Linked DNA regions of Homo sapiens: all the other regions are linked to region 3. The links are contacts of gene promoters, found by promoter capture Hi-C in blood cells and fetal thymus (Javierre and others, 2016). All regions are on one chromosome and are shown on one strand. The core of a region is centred on a gene start or on the middle of the fragment in contact, and the rest is flanking DNA. Distances in the headings are between cores, read along the strand shown. Region 1 overlaps APBB1IP (amyloid beta precursor protein binding family B member 1 interacting protein). Region 2 overlaps APBB1IP (amyloid beta precursor protein binding family B member 1 interacting protein). Region 3 holds the start of MPP7 (MAGUK p55 scaffold protein 7).

Region 1 (2,700 bases), core at 19-2,518, 1.9 Mb after region 3:
CCATGCCAGGCTAATTTTTTTGTATTTTTAGTAAAGACAGTGTTTCACCATGTTGGTCAGGCTGGTCTTGAACTCCTGACCTCAAGTGATCCTCCTGCCTCAGCCTCCCAAAGTGCTGGGGTTACCAGTGTGAGCCACCACGCCCGGCCACATATTCTTTATTCCACTTAAAACTCATAGTTCTTTACTGATGATTCTTGGTCACTTTATCAATGTCTAAGATAGCACAATTTCCGTGGTACTTACTATTAACTATTTCTAATACATGTTGTTTTTATGCTATTCAATTAAAGTAAGCTGTCTTTACTGAACAGCACAAGCTGCTTGTGACCACCCAGAGTCGGTGGAGAACCTGACTCCAGTCTGCCATGCCAGTGTTCTTTGATCCCCAGTTTGACACCATCCTTTACAAATGTATGTACATGCTTCCTAAAAGCTTTTTAAAAATTAGCACATTCAGAATAATGATTACCTCTAGCTGGGAAATGGGGAAATGTTATTGGAAGGAGACCAGGAAATGTCTTGGTAAATATTCTACTTCTTAAGCTGGGTGATAGGTACCCAGATGTTGGCTTTATTATTATTTGTTGTTATTTACATATATACATCATCTTTTGTAGATATGAAACATTTCATAATAAAACATGAAGGAAGAAATGAATCTAGTCATGATTCACTTGCTCTAATATCATTTTTTGTTTCTCTCCAGTTTGATGTGATGTAGCTCTCTGGATGCAAACCCTCCAGTCGGTTTGGGGAAACACAGTTGCTGTGTGATTTAGCTTTTATCCCCCATCCCAGCCCACAACCATCTCACTGATGAGTCTGTAACATGAAACTAAATCAAAAAGATCCCCAACAGAATTAGAAAAAATATTAAACTCACTGCTTGCTTGTTGATTTAATCAACCTAGCCGGCTGTCATGTGGGATTAGAATAAAATAAACACAAAAATGAAAACACACGATTGCTAACAAAGCAGATTCTTTTTTCAAGGCACACGTAAAGATAATAACTTCAAAGTTGATTATATTAACTTGTCTTCCCATGATAACACGATAAGTTCTTTGCTTGGTTTCCTTCTATTCAACCTTCTCCCGTGACCCTGGTTGGGGAGACCAGGGACCCTGATATGTAGTCCCACAGCACTCAACTCTGGTTCCGCATGGAATTCTACATCTCCTCTTACATCTAGTTACATCTCCTCTTCTAGACTATAAACTCATTGTGGAAAGGCCCCAGGTTTTTTCATGGGTGCCACCATCAGATGGCCCAGTTCAAACAACAGCTCTGTTTCTTACTTCCTGCGTAAGTTTCTTACCCTCTCTGTGCTTTCATCTTGATGTGATGATTAACAAGATGACACATCTAAATTAGTACAGGGCCTGGTAGTATTTATAAGTAAACATTATAATAATTATTATTTGCTATTACTATGTGATGATCAAAGAGAAAACTGAGTTGACAGAGAAGAAAGAAAATAGCTCTTATGATTCTTAATTATTCAAGTTCATGGTCAACGCTCAGGAAATGTTTTAAAACTGAGTCACGGAATCAAGCTCCAGAATATGTGGAATAATGAGAACGTGTGATGCCTTGGAGTGGTGTCACCTCTCTGCTTGCTCATGCCTGAGGTTTGGGACCAGTGGAGCCAACGGGATCTCAGGGGCTTGTGATATTTCCATGGTACCACTCAGTGAGATTAATATATTCTGCACATTTAGCCAGCCTCTTTGGAGTCCTCATTTTGGGATCACAAATTGGCTAGGAAATGATGATGCAGTGGTGGCAGGTCACATCCTCTAGTCCCCCAAAAGCTGTCCTCAGGGTCTGCCCTTCCAAGCTGCAGGTACAATCTAGTCTCTTTAACTGGGTATAGGTGTAATGGCATTCCTTCATGCGGCTAGTTCTCTCTTTTCAAGAGAAATCTAATGATTACTGTTCCAGATATCTAGCAGTTTTCTCTAAAAGTCATGTTTCTCACGATAATTAAAAGTGTAATATGTATTTTAAAATCCCCATGCAACCAGTGTAGAAATCTTACACTTTAAAATCTGGCATTTATTATGTACATGAATTTATAATAAATGCTTAAGCTTTAAGTGACTTGCCTCTTAGATGACAGCAGTGACATAAAACACACACATTCATTTTCATACTGAGAAGATACCTGTTGTGTTAATAAAAATTGTTCTGTTTTGAGGCAAGCATTCCTAAGATCACCGTAGTCTCCATAATATAAACTCATGGGGTCCTATAAAATTGTAAAGATTGTGGTCCAATAGGCTATGGAACGCAGACAATTTATTATAAGATTTGTGGACTCACTAAAATGTTTTAGGCATAAAAATAATTAAAATAAAATTGAAGAGAATTAGAAGAAAATGAAAATAATAATGCTCTTTGGAAGTAAGATGGCTTAAAGAAAATTCAAAGTGACATATCAAACAGACATTTATGGCAATGAACTTTATAAGTAGCTCATTCTAATAATAATATGGAACTATTTAAAACTTTGATTGATGAGTGAAAAAAGGCAAATCAATAGTGGATAACTGGTGAACATTCTTAGGATATAAAAATACAAAAAATGTAATAAATACTATAAAACCTAGTATTGTGTTTAAGATTTAAAGTAATGCCATAAAGTAATTCATATTACAAAGTTATATTTCTTGAGAAATAGCAATTTAAAGATTT
Region 2 (2,700 bases), core at 71-2,570, 1.8 Mb after region 3:
TTGGAGGCTTAAACAAATTTCTGGAAGATTTTTCTGTGTGGGTTTTCCTCAGCTGTATTTCTTCTCTTCAATGAATTTATCTGCATACTGTACATCTTTCTATGTTAAAGACAGTTAAAGAAAAATGTTTGTATCCTAGTATTGACTGCTTTTTTTTTTTTTTTTTTTTTTTTATCAGATGGAGTTTTGCTCTTGTTGCCCAGGCTGGAGTGCAATGGTGTGATCTCGGCTCACTGCAACCTCCACCTCCCAGTTCAAGAGTTTCTCCTGCCTCAGCCTCCCAAGTAGCTGGGATTACAGGCACCGGCCACCATGACCAGCTAATTTTTTTTTTTTTTTTTCACTTGAGAAAGAGTTTCACCATGTTGGCCAGGCTGGTCTCAAACACCTGACCTCAGGTGATCAGCCCGCCTCAGCCTCCCAAAGTGCTGGAGTTACAGGGACTGTTGTTTTTTTACCCTACAGTGTTTTGAGTTTATTACTAGATTGCCAAAACTAAAATAGAACTGGAATTGATGAGAAATAAGTTTCAAAAATCTGAGGCTCTCCAAGTATCAATTTGCTTTGATATTTTTATTATTTTTTAATTAGAAACCATCTGGCAACATTTTTTTCTAGGAAATAAATCAGTAGACATATTACAACTACAGATACAAAAGAGGAGAAAAAAATTTTAAAAAGCTTATGAATGGGATTGCCCTTAGGATGAAATACGCACTACAGAATTCGGATGCTCGCAAATGCTGGTGGAAACTGTGAAGTCACCTGTGTACAGTGTGATTGAAAATAACTTAGAATATTGAATTTTACCTGATTCCTTCAGTGTTGTATTTTTTCAAAATGCAATGAAAGCGTTTTATCAAGAGGAAGTGGTTCACAGAATAACACAGCATATGGTTAAAGGTTCTTGCAACGTTTGAGGGAGGAGAAAGGGGAAGCCGAGGCTTCTGTGTAGCGTAAAACAGGAAACAGAAGCATCTCTAAAGTTACGGATTATATCAAATAATTCACTCAACAGAGAACTAAGGTGAAGAAACCTCTTGGGCCAACTTAACCAACTTTGCACTGTACCCCTGAGATCGGTGAAAATCTTAATAGGCTAGCAAGTAGTTACTGAATCAAAAGGACAATGACTGTGGTCATATGATCAATTCAGACTAATATGCAGTGAGTCACAAACAAAATTCATATGGACATGTGTATATACATAGGTAGGGTCACACAGAAGGGACAGCCAAGACAACAGGGTCCTTTTGTAAGCAATATTGTCATGGCAAAAGTTACCTGTAAATAACATTTTAAATAAAAAACTAATCATTAAATGAAATGATTTATTTCAGTAATTTAAAAAAATACTAAGAGAGTGCTTTGAAAAGTCTTAGAATTTTGCAGTAAAGACACACACACACACACACACACACACACACACACACACACACGTAATGAGATGGGCTACCACATTTTAAAAAATATGATTTAGGCCAGGTGCGGTGGGTTACACCTGAAATTCAGCACTTTGGGAGGCAGAGGTGGGAGGATCACTTGAGGCCAGGAGTTCAAAACCAGCCTGGGCAATATAGCAAGACCCCATCTCTATCCCCTCTGCCAAAAAAATTAGCTGGGCATAGTGGTGCGCACCTGTGGTCTCAGCTACTCAGGAGGCTGAGGTGGGAGAATCCTTTGAGCGCAAGAGCTCATGGCTACAGTGAGCTATGACAGCACTACTGCCCTCTAGCCTGAGTGACAAAGTGTGACCCTGTCTCTAAAATTAAAAAATAAAAACAAAAATAACAAAACAAAAAATAAAAGATACAATTTTTAAATGTGCTTATTTCCAAATTGCTGTGATTTTATGCAAACCATAAAGTTAGTGAAAAATTTATGTTTTGCATAAAATCAAAGCAATTTGGAAATAAGTGGGTGGGACAAGGTGGGGACACTCTGCTAAGTCAAGCTTCAGTTAGAAAAAAGTGAGAGAACTGAACAACACCCAAAAATGTTCCCCAGGACTCAAGTGCAAGAACACTTGACACAGGACAACAGAGGTCAGCACATATGAACCCAACATCCCCACTTCCATCTGTCTGTCTGGCCTCCAGCTCTGGGAGACAAGTTGTAGACTAGTTTCACTTGGATGCCCACGGGTTGGAAAGAGAGTGCCAAGTCTCTAGATTATTTTAAGTTCCCTTTTTTTTTCTACTTTGGGTGTCTATATAAGGAATGGGGAACTGCTTTTGTATTTAGGACCTACTGTGACCTAAAACCAGAGGGACAATGCAATTTAGAATTTTTTGAAGAGATACAAATAGAAAATACTCTGTTTATCATGTTGTATTAATAAATAAAAATCATGAACATTTCTTTTTAGAAACAAAAGTCCTGTGAATAGTTAGGTCAATTCACTGTCCCCTACTTGTCTTTATTTTCTCATGAATCTATCTCAACTGGACTTTTGTTTGCACTATGTCACCAAACTGTGTGCCAAGATTACCAACAATCTGTGGTGTATGGTGGCTCATGCCTGTAATCCCAGCACTTTGGGAGGTCGAGGTAGGCAGATCACTTGAGCCCAGGAGTTAGAGACCAGCCTGGGCAACATGGGGAAATCCCATGTTTACCAAAAAAAAAAAAAAAAAAAAAAAAAAGAAGCAGCTCAACCATTCCAATATTAAAGTTATTTTGAAAGAAGAGATTACCAAT
Region 3 (2,700 bases), core at 81-2,580:
TCTATCTCCATTTTTCACTATTACGTAATTCACGGAGTTGCTGGGGGGAAGTGCTTAATTTCAAATAGCCTGTTTTAGAACTTTGCGAGAATGACAAGAACAAACAGAATGTTAAGGCAGCTAGAGAGAGTTAAGTGAGAGTGGTCCCTAGGTGAGAAATGCTTCTTGCCTTCTAGGCTGACACCAGTTCTGGGGGATGTGTTCTGAGAGCTCATATTAACTGCAGGTCATTGATCCTTATCTCAATCCCCTTCCTCTCCCTTCAGCTTTCCATTCAAAGTCTCTATCACATCTTGAAGTGTTGTCACATTATTTTTTTTCTGATGATTCCCTCCATCAGCTGAGCTTTCCAATTTATATTACCTGATTTTTTTTTGTCTTCTGCTTTTTACTACCCCTTTTTCTAAAGCTTTATTGATTGTGTACTTTGGATTCTAATTCTTCCTATAAGAGTCTTCCTGTAATTCTGTTTGCAGTGTAGTGCTGTCCACATTATGTGTTGGTTACATGATAGGAAGGAGTATGGGGGCACCTCGGTCACATATGTAAAGTTCTTTAAGAGAGCTGAAGGGCGCTGATACCAGTTCATGTTTTTTCGGGGTAGCCCTCAGATATTAAGCATGTTTACTGTATTTTCTTCTATTGTGAAAGAATCAGTTCTCTGGATTTCCTTAAAGTTTGTCTTTACCATTCTCCGCACCCTACTCATTTTTCTATTTAAGAATTTTTTTTTCTAATCATGTAGTACATGTTCAATATGGAACACAAAAAGGTAATAAGAAAAAGTCACCTACAGTGTCGCCAAAGGTGAAAACACCTTATGTCTTTTTTCGTGCATAACAATATCCCTCTCAATCTTATGCAGCATTTTTAAACCTAGGAGACTTGTCTGAATCCAAAGGAAGTTAAAGATTACGTTATTCACCAAGTTCATACTGAAATCAGAGAATCGCAGCGGCTTAAGAAAACTCGCATCTGGCGAATGAACCTGCGTATCCGGGGTTCTCCTCAGGGAGGTTGCTCGTCCATGAAACACACTCCAGTCTGCAGCCACCTGGGAGTGGGAACCAAGGGCGAGCGAACCGGGCGGGCAGGGGTGGAACTTGCGGGGACTGCGGGTATGAGGAGGAGCTACAGAGCTGTCACCAATCAGAGCCCAGCTTTGTTTTCTCTTGCCGACCAATGAGGGAGTTCTGCTGGAGAGGCGTCTTCAAGTCTGAGACGCCTATCGCCTTCGCAGCCTATCAGCAGGCCCCTCTTACCCGCGGGCGGTGCAGCCCCGCCCCGCCCCTCCAACCGCGGTCCCGCCCCTCCGAGGGTGGGGGCCGTGTTGGTTACTAGCCGGGCTGGAGGCGGGGGCCGGGCTCCCACTGGGCTCGTGCGTTCTGCGCCCGCCGCGGCGGTGCCGAGCCCGCTGGCTCCCGATTGTCCTCTGCGGCGGTGGCGGTCGCTGCCTCCTTGCCTCCGGGCCCGGGGCTGCAGGGGCCAGAGCGAGTGCGCCTCCTGCCCGCGGACCGCGGCAGCCCAGAGCAGGTAATGGGGCGCCTCTGGGGAGCGCCTGTCGGAGCCCAGGGCTAGGCTCGGGCGGTGGGGTCGGCCCCCGAAGCTGCTCCCTGCGCCGGCGACCGGGCCGAGCGGTGCCGCGGTCCTCCGGAGCCTCCTGCCGGCCTCTAGGCGCCTCAGCCTGGGAGCCCGCGGCGGGCACCTTGTGAGGAGGTGGGGGCGGGGCCGGGGCAGGGGCGGGGCCGCCTCGGGCGGGACCCTGAGGACCCCTGGAGACCCCTGTTGACGCGCGGGACTCCGGGCGGGGGCGGCGGCGGGGCAGACCCAGAGCGGGGAGAACCGACAGGTGGAGGAAAAACTGCGGAGTTGAGTCAGAGTCCGGCTCCCCGGGGAAAAGAACCGACTGAAAGGGAGCGATAAGCTGGCTGGCTTCTTTTTTTTCTTTCCCTAAGCCAGAAAGGCGTCTTCACTTGGGTCGTGTTAATTACATGTTTTCTGAGAACAGGCGTTTGGCCGTGTAATCTACACGATAGCATTATTTATTTACTTATTTGCTATTTAAAAAATTAAAAGCAGCATTTAGCGTGAATCTATTTGGGGGCTTTTTCTTAAGTGACAGGTAGACCCAGCCGAGTAACTCAGCTTTGTCTGGGCTGAAGTGGGGAGCGGTGAGGTAGGAATGAGGGGGAGGAGTGTTCGTGAGGAATGCCTGTGCAGGTTTGAAAGGATTGTGGGGGTGGGACCTTGTTTCTGTCACTGTGCCATGGGTGGGAGTAGAATTGTGATTTTTTTCTTTTTCTAATTTTTAAAAGCAATATTCACATTTAAAAAAGGGGGGGCTCTCTAAAAACAGTCTCTGTACTCGAGGCTTTGGGGATGCACCTGCTAGTCAGGCAGTAATAGTTTGCAGGTAAATCCTGGGCTATTAATTACGTAATTTGATTTACTTATAAAGAAGTATCTTGAATTGTTGCTGCCTTTCCTTTGACTTGCTCAATATATTGCTTGTTTACAAGTGAATTGATGAAGGTCACTGAGTTTTAGCGGTAATGTCACAGCGATGGCCCTTGGAGAGTTTTCTATGCTCAGGTTCACTCTGGTTCTATAAAAACAGTATTTCCATTTAATCGTGAAGCTCATAGCACTCTATCAATTATATAGTATGCCATCCTCCTACTCTTCTGAGGCAGGCTGTGC

What was found. Contacts are between HindIII fragments. The CHiCAGO score rates a contact against its expected background, and 5 or more counts as called.
Region 1: a contact is called between a fragment that was not itself captured here and the fragment with the promoter of MPP7 in region 3, in 1 of 17 cell types (fetal thymus). The highest score is 5.4, in fetal thymus.
Region 2: a contact is called between a fragment that was not itself captured here and the fragment with the promoter of MPP7 in region 3, in 1 of 17 cell types (non-activated CD4 T cells). The highest score is 6.5, in non-activated CD4 T cells.

What each region holds. Positions count from the first base shown.
Region 1 is chr10:26,440,589-26,443,288 of GRCh38, reverse strand. All of the region lies in intron 2 of APBB1IP (amyloid beta precursor protein binding family B member 1 interacting protein), which reads right to left. Among named protein-coding and RNA genes, the nearest start is that of APBB1IP, 3.6 kb to the right of the region's middle. The HindIII fragment of the contact is 1,660 bases long and covers 439-2,098 here.
Region 2 is chr10:26,480,566-26,483,265 of GRCh38, reverse strand. The region is part of intron 2 of APBB1IP (amyloid beta precursor protein binding family B member 1 interacting protein); the gene reads right to left. Among named protein-coding and RNA genes, the nearest start is that of APBB1IP, 44 kb to the right of the region's middle. The HindIII fragment of the contact is 1,273 bases long and covers 684-1,956 here.
Region 3 is chr10:28,301,694-28,304,393 of GRCh38, reverse strand. MPP7 (MAGUK p55 scaffold protein 7) reads left to right here and starts at 1,330. Exons shown (of 17, transcript NM_001318170.2): 1 at 1,330-1,533. It overlaps MPP7-DT (MPP7 divergent transcript), which reads right to left and starts at 1,225. Exons shown (of 2, transcript XR_930772.3): 1 at 1-1,225. RefSeq lists a silencer at 1,144-1,783. The HindIII fragment of the contact is 2,637 bases long and covers 412-2,700 here.